Linked DNA regions of Homo sapiens: region 1 is linked to region 2. The links are contacts of gene promoters, found by promoter capture Hi-C in human tissues and cell types (Jung and others, 2019). All regions are on one chromosome and are shown on one strand. Each heading gives the region's core, a stretch centred on a gene start or on the middle of the fragment in contact. The rest is flanking DNA. Distances are from core to core; before and after follow the strand shown. Region 1 has its middle 100 kb from the start of NEBL. Region 2 holds the start of SKIDA1 (SKI/DACH domain containing 1).

Evidence for each region. Contacts are between HindIII fragments. The study calls those that stand out against the background at their distance.
Region 1: a fragment that was not itself captured here is called in contact with the fragment with the promoter of SKIDA1 in region 2 in 2 of the 25 tissues and cell types used here (dorsolateral prefrontal cortex and mesendoderm cells).

Annotation. Positions count from the first base shown.
Region 1 is chr10:20,996,920-21,001,471 of GRCh38, forward strand. It overlaps a transcript of NEBL not described here. Among named protein-coding and RNA genes, the nearest start is that of NEBL, 100 kb to the left of the region's middle. The HindIII fragment of the contact is 5,722 bases long and covers 1-4,552 here.
Region 2 is chr10:21,523,038-21,527,432 of GRCh38, forward strand. It overlaps SKIDA1 (SKI/DACH domain containing 1), which reads right to left and starts at 2,645. Exons shown (of 4, transcript NM_207371.4): 1 at 2,510-2,645; 2 at 646-834. RefSeq lists enhancers at 2,037-2,680, 2,681-3,324 and silencers at 2,980-3,399, 3,520-3,669, 4,115-4,234, 4,245-4,395. The HindIII fragment of the contact is 2,515 bases long and covers 1,465-3,979 here.

The DNA.
Region 1 (4,552 bases), core at 565-3,064, 530 kb before region 2:
TTGATCAATGCCTCGGCCATTTTGAAAAATAAATGTTCAAACTGGATAACAGTTCATCATACATAATCTATAAAATGTGGGTTATTTATCCATAATCATAAACATTTAGTTTCAAAAATCCATCTTTCTACACTGTAACTGAACATAATTTTAGAAAGCTTTGGTCACTACTTGGTTTTTACTTTACTATCACTGTTTGTCCATCAGTATGAAAGTCATTTCCCCTTAAATAATAGCCAAACTCTTTAATCCTAATCCTGAACTCACTCACTCACTCACTCAATCCTTTGTTCATTTAAACATTTACAATGGTGGGGTTGCAGAGATAATGGGATCAGCAGGCTCCCTGCCCTCTCAATCTCTGACCACAGCCAGTAACAGTCCCTGTTACTCAGGTCTGGAATCTCAAAAGGCATCAGTGGCATTAGACTTCCATCTCTCCCCATGGCACTGCCAAGGGGGGCAAGGTGGGGAAGGAAGTGGCCACAGTCACCATTAGGTACCCCCATCCCTACAGCCGCAAACCACACCAAATAAACGCACAGTCTCAGTAAAAAAAAAAAAAAAAAAAAAAAAAAAAAAAAAAAAAAAAAAACAGAACTCCTGAAGAATTTAGGATTCGGATTAGTAGCCAACCCTGCAATGCACTATGGATTAAAGTGTTCAACCAGTTCCTAACAAAGTATCATTACACAGAAAAGCAAATTTCTAATATAATTGGGTACTTTCTATGATCAGATCTACTTTTTAAAATGTTTTTGAAATGTGAATAATATATTATTTCATTGGTTTTATAATAGCTTCAGTGGTAATGTTCTGATCAGTAGTATAGCAATAACTGAAAACATTAGATGCTTGAGATAGGATCCTATACAGAATTTGAATTTAAAAATCAGTAAGCTCAGAAAACATGAGGACATTTATTCAATACCAGTTAAGATGGGTACAGCCAACAAAACAGAGTGCTGCTAAAATAATAAACTGGCTAAAATCATTGACCTCCAAATGAAAAGTTTACTACATAACTTAATTAAAAGTATTAAAAACATTCAGGAATGATGAAAATCAAATGGAGCCAAAAAATAAATTAAATACAATAAAAGGCTATTTATCAGAAATCACAATTTTTAAAAGTCCAAATATAAAAATTTCACCTAATGAAGAGATCCTGGAGAATTTTAAACCTAAAATGTCATATCACTGATACGATACGGTATGGAAATCACAGAAATGTCATAATAATGACAATGCTGAGATAGCTAATAAGAAACATCTCAGGCTTTGGAGTCGGAAAGTCCTGAGGCCAAATATTAGCAAGGACCCTGAGTAGCCGTGTGGCCTCAGGCAGTTTACATGACTTCTCTGAGCCACAGCTCCCTCATCTACAAAATGAGAACAATCATGCTAACCTAAGAAAGGTATGGGGAAGATTAAATGAGATACTCTACAAAAAGCCTTAGCAAACAACTGGCTCATCGTTAACTCCCAGTAAATAATGTCTGTTATTGTTTCCAATAACTCATTCATTCATCTAGAATCTATGGGGAATCCAAAGATAAGGTCTCCACTCTTGCCAGGGCTCTCAACAATAGGCATTTAGAAACCATGGCTCCTGGCTGCTTCAAGAAATGTGCAGATAAAAGAAGGCAGGGGAAATGGTAGAACCATAAAAATGCTACGTCTACATCTCATACTTAACATCAGAATTAAGACATATATAACCAAGCAGATGGCCAGGAAGAATAGAAATTCCAATAATGCACACAGCAATAATACTATCCAATCTGCATATTACATTAAAAATCCAACTGGCATTGCTTTGAACACTCTGCAACATGTCAACTCTGACACCCCCTAAAAGTCACAATCTGAATTCACAACTAGCCCCAATGAAGTCCCTTAATTCGATCACTTTGTTTGTCTATGGACTAACTTCTGTCAGTCTGATATACGGATCATGAGGACTGTGAGATGACAAGGATGGAAGGTCACACCGCAGCAAGTTCTGGGGGCCGCCAACAAAACAGGATCCGCCATCTGGAACAAGTGAAGATATGCTGGGTGTTCAGGGTTAGGCAAGGCCTGGAGTCAGAGCCAGTAAAGAAGTCCAAGCAAACAATAATTCATTCCCTTTCCCAGACTTATGTTTGAATTATTTATTTTTATCTGCGGCACCAAAAATTTCCAAATCCTTGGCTTTTACCATACAAAAACTGTACAGAAACCCAGAGGTGTGTGGGGGGAAAAAAAAAAAAAAAGGCTGTCAGGGAAGAAAGGCGTACTCTCTGAGTAAGACTCTGGTTTATTCCAACAATCATTTATTGATTGCCCAATTATGTGTGAGAAGACCTGCAGTGATGCTATATTCTCCCAGCCCCACAAGAAATACAAGCCAGGCTGGATGCAGTGGCTCACGCCTGTAATCTCAGCACTTTGGGAGGGTAAGGTGGGAGGGTTGCTTGACCCCAGGAGTTCAAGACAAGTCTGGGCAATATGGCAAGACCCCATCCCTACTAAAAATTTAAAAATATTAGCCAGGCATAGTGATGCATGCCTGTAGTCCCAGCTACTCAGGAGGCTGAGGTAGGAAGATCACTTGAGCCCAGGAGGTTGAGGCTGCAGTGAGCTGTGATTGCATCAATGCACTCCAGCATGGGCAACAGAGTGAGACCCTGTCTCACCTCACAAAAGAAAAAAGAAAAAGAAATACAAACCAAACTGATTCTATATCCAGGATCTATATACCCAGGGTTGTAAAAGCCAAAGCATTTTCCCTACACTCACTGGGACCTATCTAAGGCAATGAGGTCTGATGGCTCCATGTTCTCTTACAACCCCCGCTTTAACTGCCGTGGAGGCTGTGAAGCCTGTCGTATTTCTTCAAACATAAACATGAACGCTGCTCCTTTAATGTCTTTCTTCTCCCATAATAATCTATACTCTAATTCAAAGAAATGCAATTTCATCGTTGGTTCCCCATGCTGATGTTTGAGAAAAGATCATGTGATGCAAACCGTAATGACTAAGGAATATAATCAAGACGACGCCAGTAAGTGATTTCCAGCAATGTAGTCATTTACTACAAAGCACTTCCTCCTCTGATGGAAGGTTTTAAAAAATTAAGCTTTCACTGCTGCCACGAACTATTGTAGTTTGGAAGGCGGCCCGTGGCAGTGTCACCATCTTCGGTGAATCTAGTGAAGAGCTTTGGCCACTAGGGCAAGGAAAAAGCCAGGCAGAGGGGGGCAGAGAGGGGGCAGAGGGGGATAGAGGGGGAATAGAGGGGGTATAGAGGGGGCATGGGGGGCCAGAGGGGGGCAGAGGGAGCTGCAGCTACCACAACAGATTATTGCCCTGCCCTCAAGGGGCCATATGGCCCCAGCATGGCCCCAGGAAATAGCTACAGAGAGGCCCTGAGTGCTAGCTGGATGGGGTGGTTTATTGTGTCCCATGCTGCACTATGGTAGGGGGGATTCTGGTCCCCCCATTAGTCCCCTGTCAAAAGTGACTTTTCCTGGCCAAACAAATTTATCCCTCCCCATCTACACAGGGTTGCAGAATGTTGACCTTCTGCAAAGAACAGAGGTCTCTAAAGAGAGAGAAGCCACCCATTCCCAGGTAAATGAGTCAAGCAGGAGACCAGCCTTTGCAAAGGAAGGAGCAAAACATTTGTAGAAAAATAAAATCAAGTGGGTAAGAATTTGTTTAAATTGAAACTCTGAACATTTTGAGATAGAAGGTTAAATACTTACTGCAAACAGAAATAAGGCTCCCAAAACGAGAAAGCAACACCCCAAAATGACAAAGTGAGCAAAAGACTGCAATGGAGCAGATGACATCAGGTAAGATGTCTCTTGTCTTTCTGGATGCTCTGCTGTTTTTGCAGTCTAAGATATGGAAGAAAGCTGATTCACTGGAGAGAAATCAAGTGCATTGAAGGGAGAGAAAAAAGGTAGGATGGCCAGGAAGGGCCACATTGGGATTTAAGGGCAGAGAAAAAGGGAAGAAGCCCAGATAGAGCTGGAGAGCTGGTCTCCTGCAGACAAAGCCAGCACAGGAGGGTCCTGACTTCCTGGTCAGGAATTCGCTCCTGCACACCCAATCATCTGCAGTTCCCTCAGGAAACCAATGCAGGTCCCCATGAGCTTGTATAGATCCTCCCTTCTCCACAGAAAGCAGCAGGTAAGATGTCAGAGGGATGGAGGTGGTCAGGAAAATGCTAGTCTAACCCCAGGCCTAGACTCTATTGCCTGCTTCCCCAGGTCCAGCCAGCCGACAGACCGCCAGAGACAAAAAGCTAACAGCACCTGGTTGTCACATTCCAGGTGAAAACAGGTACCTAGTGCTAGAGGAAAATCGGCAAGTAAAGAGAATGTCTTGTCCCACAGACATTCCCTGGGACAAGCTGGGAGCCACGTAGCAGCTGGGAATCAGAGAATCCAGGGAGGTGGAACACAGCCAGAGTTCTTCCTATCAGAAAGATTTTTCCAACTTGTAAGGTGGACATCATTTCATAGCCTAGCAAAATAAATGATTTGCAAGACAAGCTATG
Region 2 (4,395 bases), core at 1,395-3,894:
GCAAGCTAAAAACCAGTTATAAACATAGGAGACAAGGAGGTTATAGATTGCATCAAATTAGAGTGAGGTACAAATCACTTTCATGATGTAAGAAACGGCTAGGCCACAATCTTCCTGCTCTTCTCATCTCAAGGGCTGTGGGGGACCCTAGTGACCAAGGAAGGAATGGGGTGGGGGGAAGGGGGCAGGGAGGAAAAGAAAGGAGTGAGACTTGATCTGAATCTGTGGGCACATTCCCTTATCTTTCCTGCTATCAGCCAGTTTAAAGGACACCATAATTATGATGGTGATAAAACAATGCCTGCTTATGTGTGCTGAATAAATAAAGAATGTTTACAGCTCAAGAATCTTTTAATTCCAATTAAATGCTATCAAAGAAAAGCCACTTTTCCTACTGCAACCGCCTTTCCCCCCAATTATCTTGTTTTGTTGTAATATTTTCCTATGAGACACATGGGCCTTTCACAATTGATCCTGAATGCAAAAGAAAAAAAATCAGAGAAAGTAGAGTTTGACCTTCAGATATTAAATAATACACAAATATCCAGAACCACAATTTGTTAGGGTTGCCCAAGTTTTTGTTTATTTTACACAAGGGCCAAACATATAGAGACTGAAGTGGTGACACCAAGTGTTGAGGCCTACCTATGGGCTGCTCAGCCATACTGAAATCCTGAGCCACCACGAGGGGAGAGAGGAGAGACAAGACATGAGGAGCCTGATGGTCTCTGGAAAGGGAATCCTCTTCTGGTTCTGTTCCCCTGGCTTCAGCCCAAATCCTTCTGGGAGCACTGGAGCCAATCACTGTCTTTCACTGCTGCAGCTACTGGGAACCTACAAAAAAGCGGGAGATAAAAAAAAAAAAAAAAAAATCACAAGTTCGAATTTATGGATACACAAGTATCATTTCATATTCATGACATCAGCAAATCACATCATAATCAGATTTGAGCAAGGTTTGGACACTAAGACCCAAAAGACTGGACACTCAACACTGACAGTATCACATATTAACCAGAAAATTCGCTTTTTTGTTATGGAATCATAGGGTGAAAATTAAGTCTTTTAACTTTGAAAAGCTTACTTTTCACTTCTGAGGCCAATTTTTACACTAATAAATTTCAAGTAAACGTCTCTTTTAAAGTTGTTCCACAACATTTTAATTCAAACTTCTATTTCCTTTCTCAGTTGGGGTAGTGTTTTGTTTGTGTTTTAAAAAAACACATGGCACAACAAACGTTATGGAAAACGCACTCATTCCGTTAAATGCCGATACAAACCTGCCTTTTACTACATCTGTCTAAGCAGCGCATTGCTAAGTATAAACTTAAAAAAATTTTTTTTTCTCAAAGACATATCTATTATTTCTTGGCAAATACTATTTGGTGATGTGGTGCAAAAACACAATGGTAAAAAATTTCGGGGTATTTGTAAGTTTTCTGGAGAGTTGCAGGCCCCTTTCCTTTTGAAAGTTTAGAGCTCCAATACCCTCAATTCTACTGGCAGAATTAGGATGGACTTAGAGGGTCCTAAACGTGACCGATTCACTAAGGCGGGGGGGGGGGGGGGCTACAGCTTGCAGCAACGTGCTCTGCAACTTAATCCTACGCTAAAAGAGGGCAGAGAGCGAAAAAGAATGGAATACAAACTCTCCCGACATCCGTAGTTACTTTCAAGGTGGATTGTGTATTTTAAGGCTGATGGGAACGTCTGGTTTGTGGAGCAAAAAGAAGAGAAGGTAAGTGTTTGTCCTTGTATCCACCAGTTCGTAGAGAAACAATGAAAGAACAAAGGGAACCACTTCCCCATCTGAACATTTTCTGTATCTCCCTCCGTTTCAAGCCAAAAAGCTTGGGAAGGGATTCGCTTTACTCTACCTTAAGTAGTGGTTGCTGGCTTGTTGAACTAAGAATGAGAAAAAAGTTGAGAGGCAGATATAGACTAAATAATAATAAAAAAGGCTTGCTGTGGCGGATCTCCACCGCGCCAGTGTCAGCAACTTGCAGCAGAAGTTGCTCAATGCACGGAGGCAAAGCCCAAGAAATACCCTTTGCACACCAGATTTCGAACTCAGTCATTTAAATAGACTTTCTTGCTGTTTGAAGGGGTTTCTGCGCACAAAATGTGTAGGTAGTGGCTATGGGAGAGATGTACTATTTAGGTCGAAAAATGATCTCATGGCTATCTGGAAAAGAATTTTTAAAAAGGAAAGGGGATTCAAGTATCACGTTACTGTTTGCTAATAGAAGAAATGGCAGCACTGGCTGGGAAAGGAGAGGGATTCGTATTGAAATGCATTTGCTTTGGGGTACGCTGGTTATCCGCAAGTCTGGCTTTGTGGGTCTGCGTGGCTGAATAAGTGACCAAGTGCCTTCGGCATTATATAAACGGATCGATGTGTGCGGGAGTCCCCAAAGCCGTCGAGCACGTGAAACGCGACTTTTTACTGCCCTCCAAGCGGCGACCAAGCCCCGCTCCACCCCACCCCGCCTCAAAATCCGTATATTACCTGCCCTGTTACAGTGACACATGTTTATGTTTATAGTCCTGGTTTGTAGTAGTGTCAAGAACCGCAGCAAGAGGAAGGGGAGGAGAGAGGAGAGGGAGGAGTAAATTCAACCACCCCCACTTGTTGTTAAAGCAAATTTACTGCGTTATTGCAAGCTCAGGACGGGGGGCTGGGATGAGAGTTGAGAGGAAGGGTTGAGTTGGGAAGTGTGTTGGCGGTGGAAGGTGGGGGTGGGGTTAAGAGCTCCGCAATGGAGCTCCTCTCCCCAGCAGCCCAGGAAAAGCAGCTCGGTCAATAGGGGAGCATGCTGGCGCGGTCGAAAACAAAAAGGTTCCTCCTGCTCGCTGCGTTCACGTGGGGGGCTCTGCACGCGGGGCTCCAGGGCCGTGACCCCTGACCCCGGCTCCTCTCCGCGCTCTCCGGTGCCGCGCGGCCACTTTTTACCCAGGATCCCTCGCGCGGGCCGCGCTCGTGCCGAGCTGGAGTCCTTCCTAATCCTCCATTCCCGGCTCTCGCTCCCCGCCCCCGCCGCCAGCCCCGGGGGAGGATTCTCCGGCGGGGAACCCCCGCCCCACCCCCACCCCGACTGCCCCGGCGGAGTCGGCCGCAGCGAGTCCGCGCGGGGCGGGGAGGGCCGGGCCGGGCCTCCCCTACCGCGCCGGGCCTGCGAGGGAGGGGAGGGACGGGGAGCCGAGGGGAGGGGGCGCCGGCCTCCCGGCTCAGCTGCCCCACTGAGGCCTGGACCTGTTGACTGCGATTGGCCCGCCTCATCCCGCGCCCTCTCTCTGCTCGCAGCGGCCCCAGCCCTTCCGCGGCGTCGCGGGGAGGAAATGGGGATGGCTGTCCTCCTCTCCGCCTCCTTCTAACTTTCCTTTTTTTATTTGGGTGTGTTGGGGGGGGTGCTGAGAAAGCCCAGGCAACTCCACCGCCGCCCCATCCTGCCTCCGAAAGTCTCGTCACGCCCGACCCGCCGCCGCCCTCCCAGCCCCCATGACTTAAAACCGCCTCCCCTCCTCGCAGCGGCGCCCCGGCCCGGAGCCCGAGAGCCCTCGACGCCCCCGCCGCGCCTCCCCCGCCTGGCCTGGCCCAGCGGCGTCCCCAGCGAATTGTGTCGCTTTTCTGCCCTGGAAGCTCCCTCGGCCACGTTCCACTTTTTTTCCCAGTCCCAGGAGGCGTAAGATAAAACCTCTGATTTGCTGCGTGCTGCCGGGCACATTCTCTGCCCTCTCGTCCGAAGGACGAGTTTAAAATGGAGAGTTTAAAATAATAGCATTTACAGGAGGAAATAAAGAGCGAGGAGATGGTTCTTTGGCCGGTTTTAAGACATACATGCTTTTTTTTTCTTTTAATACAAGATGTCTTAAGGGTTAAAAGCGTTCTAGGGTTTGCTGTATTTCCTTCTAGATTTGGGGTTTCCTGAGGAAATCTTTTCCGGAGGGAAATAGCAAATCAACATTAAGATGGAAGCGAGACTTCTCAGCCACTTTTGGAAATGAAGGGGGAAATTGTAAAAATACATTCAGAAAAGGGCGCGAAGGCGGCGGCTGAGGGGAAGAAGCTGGAGTCTTGGGAGGAAGCGCAGTGGGTTGGAATCGGGGGAAGGAGGGCCCGCTAGGTCCGGGCGGGGAAGAAGGCGTGCGGGCGGCGGGGCGTGCGCCGGGCCGGGCAGCTGGAGGAAGGCGCGGCGGGACTGGCGAGCGCGAAGAGGCAGGCGGGGAAGGCCTCGGGGGGCGGGGGCCGGGCGCGGGGCCGGCGCGCCGGAGGAAGCGGGACCTGGCTCCTCGCGCCCGCCGGGCCGCCCCCATTGTTCTGCCCTAGCACCGCTGTTAGCCGAGCACGTCCTGACCGAGGGAGGGGCCCCGCGGGCCAACCCGACCCCCGTCGGC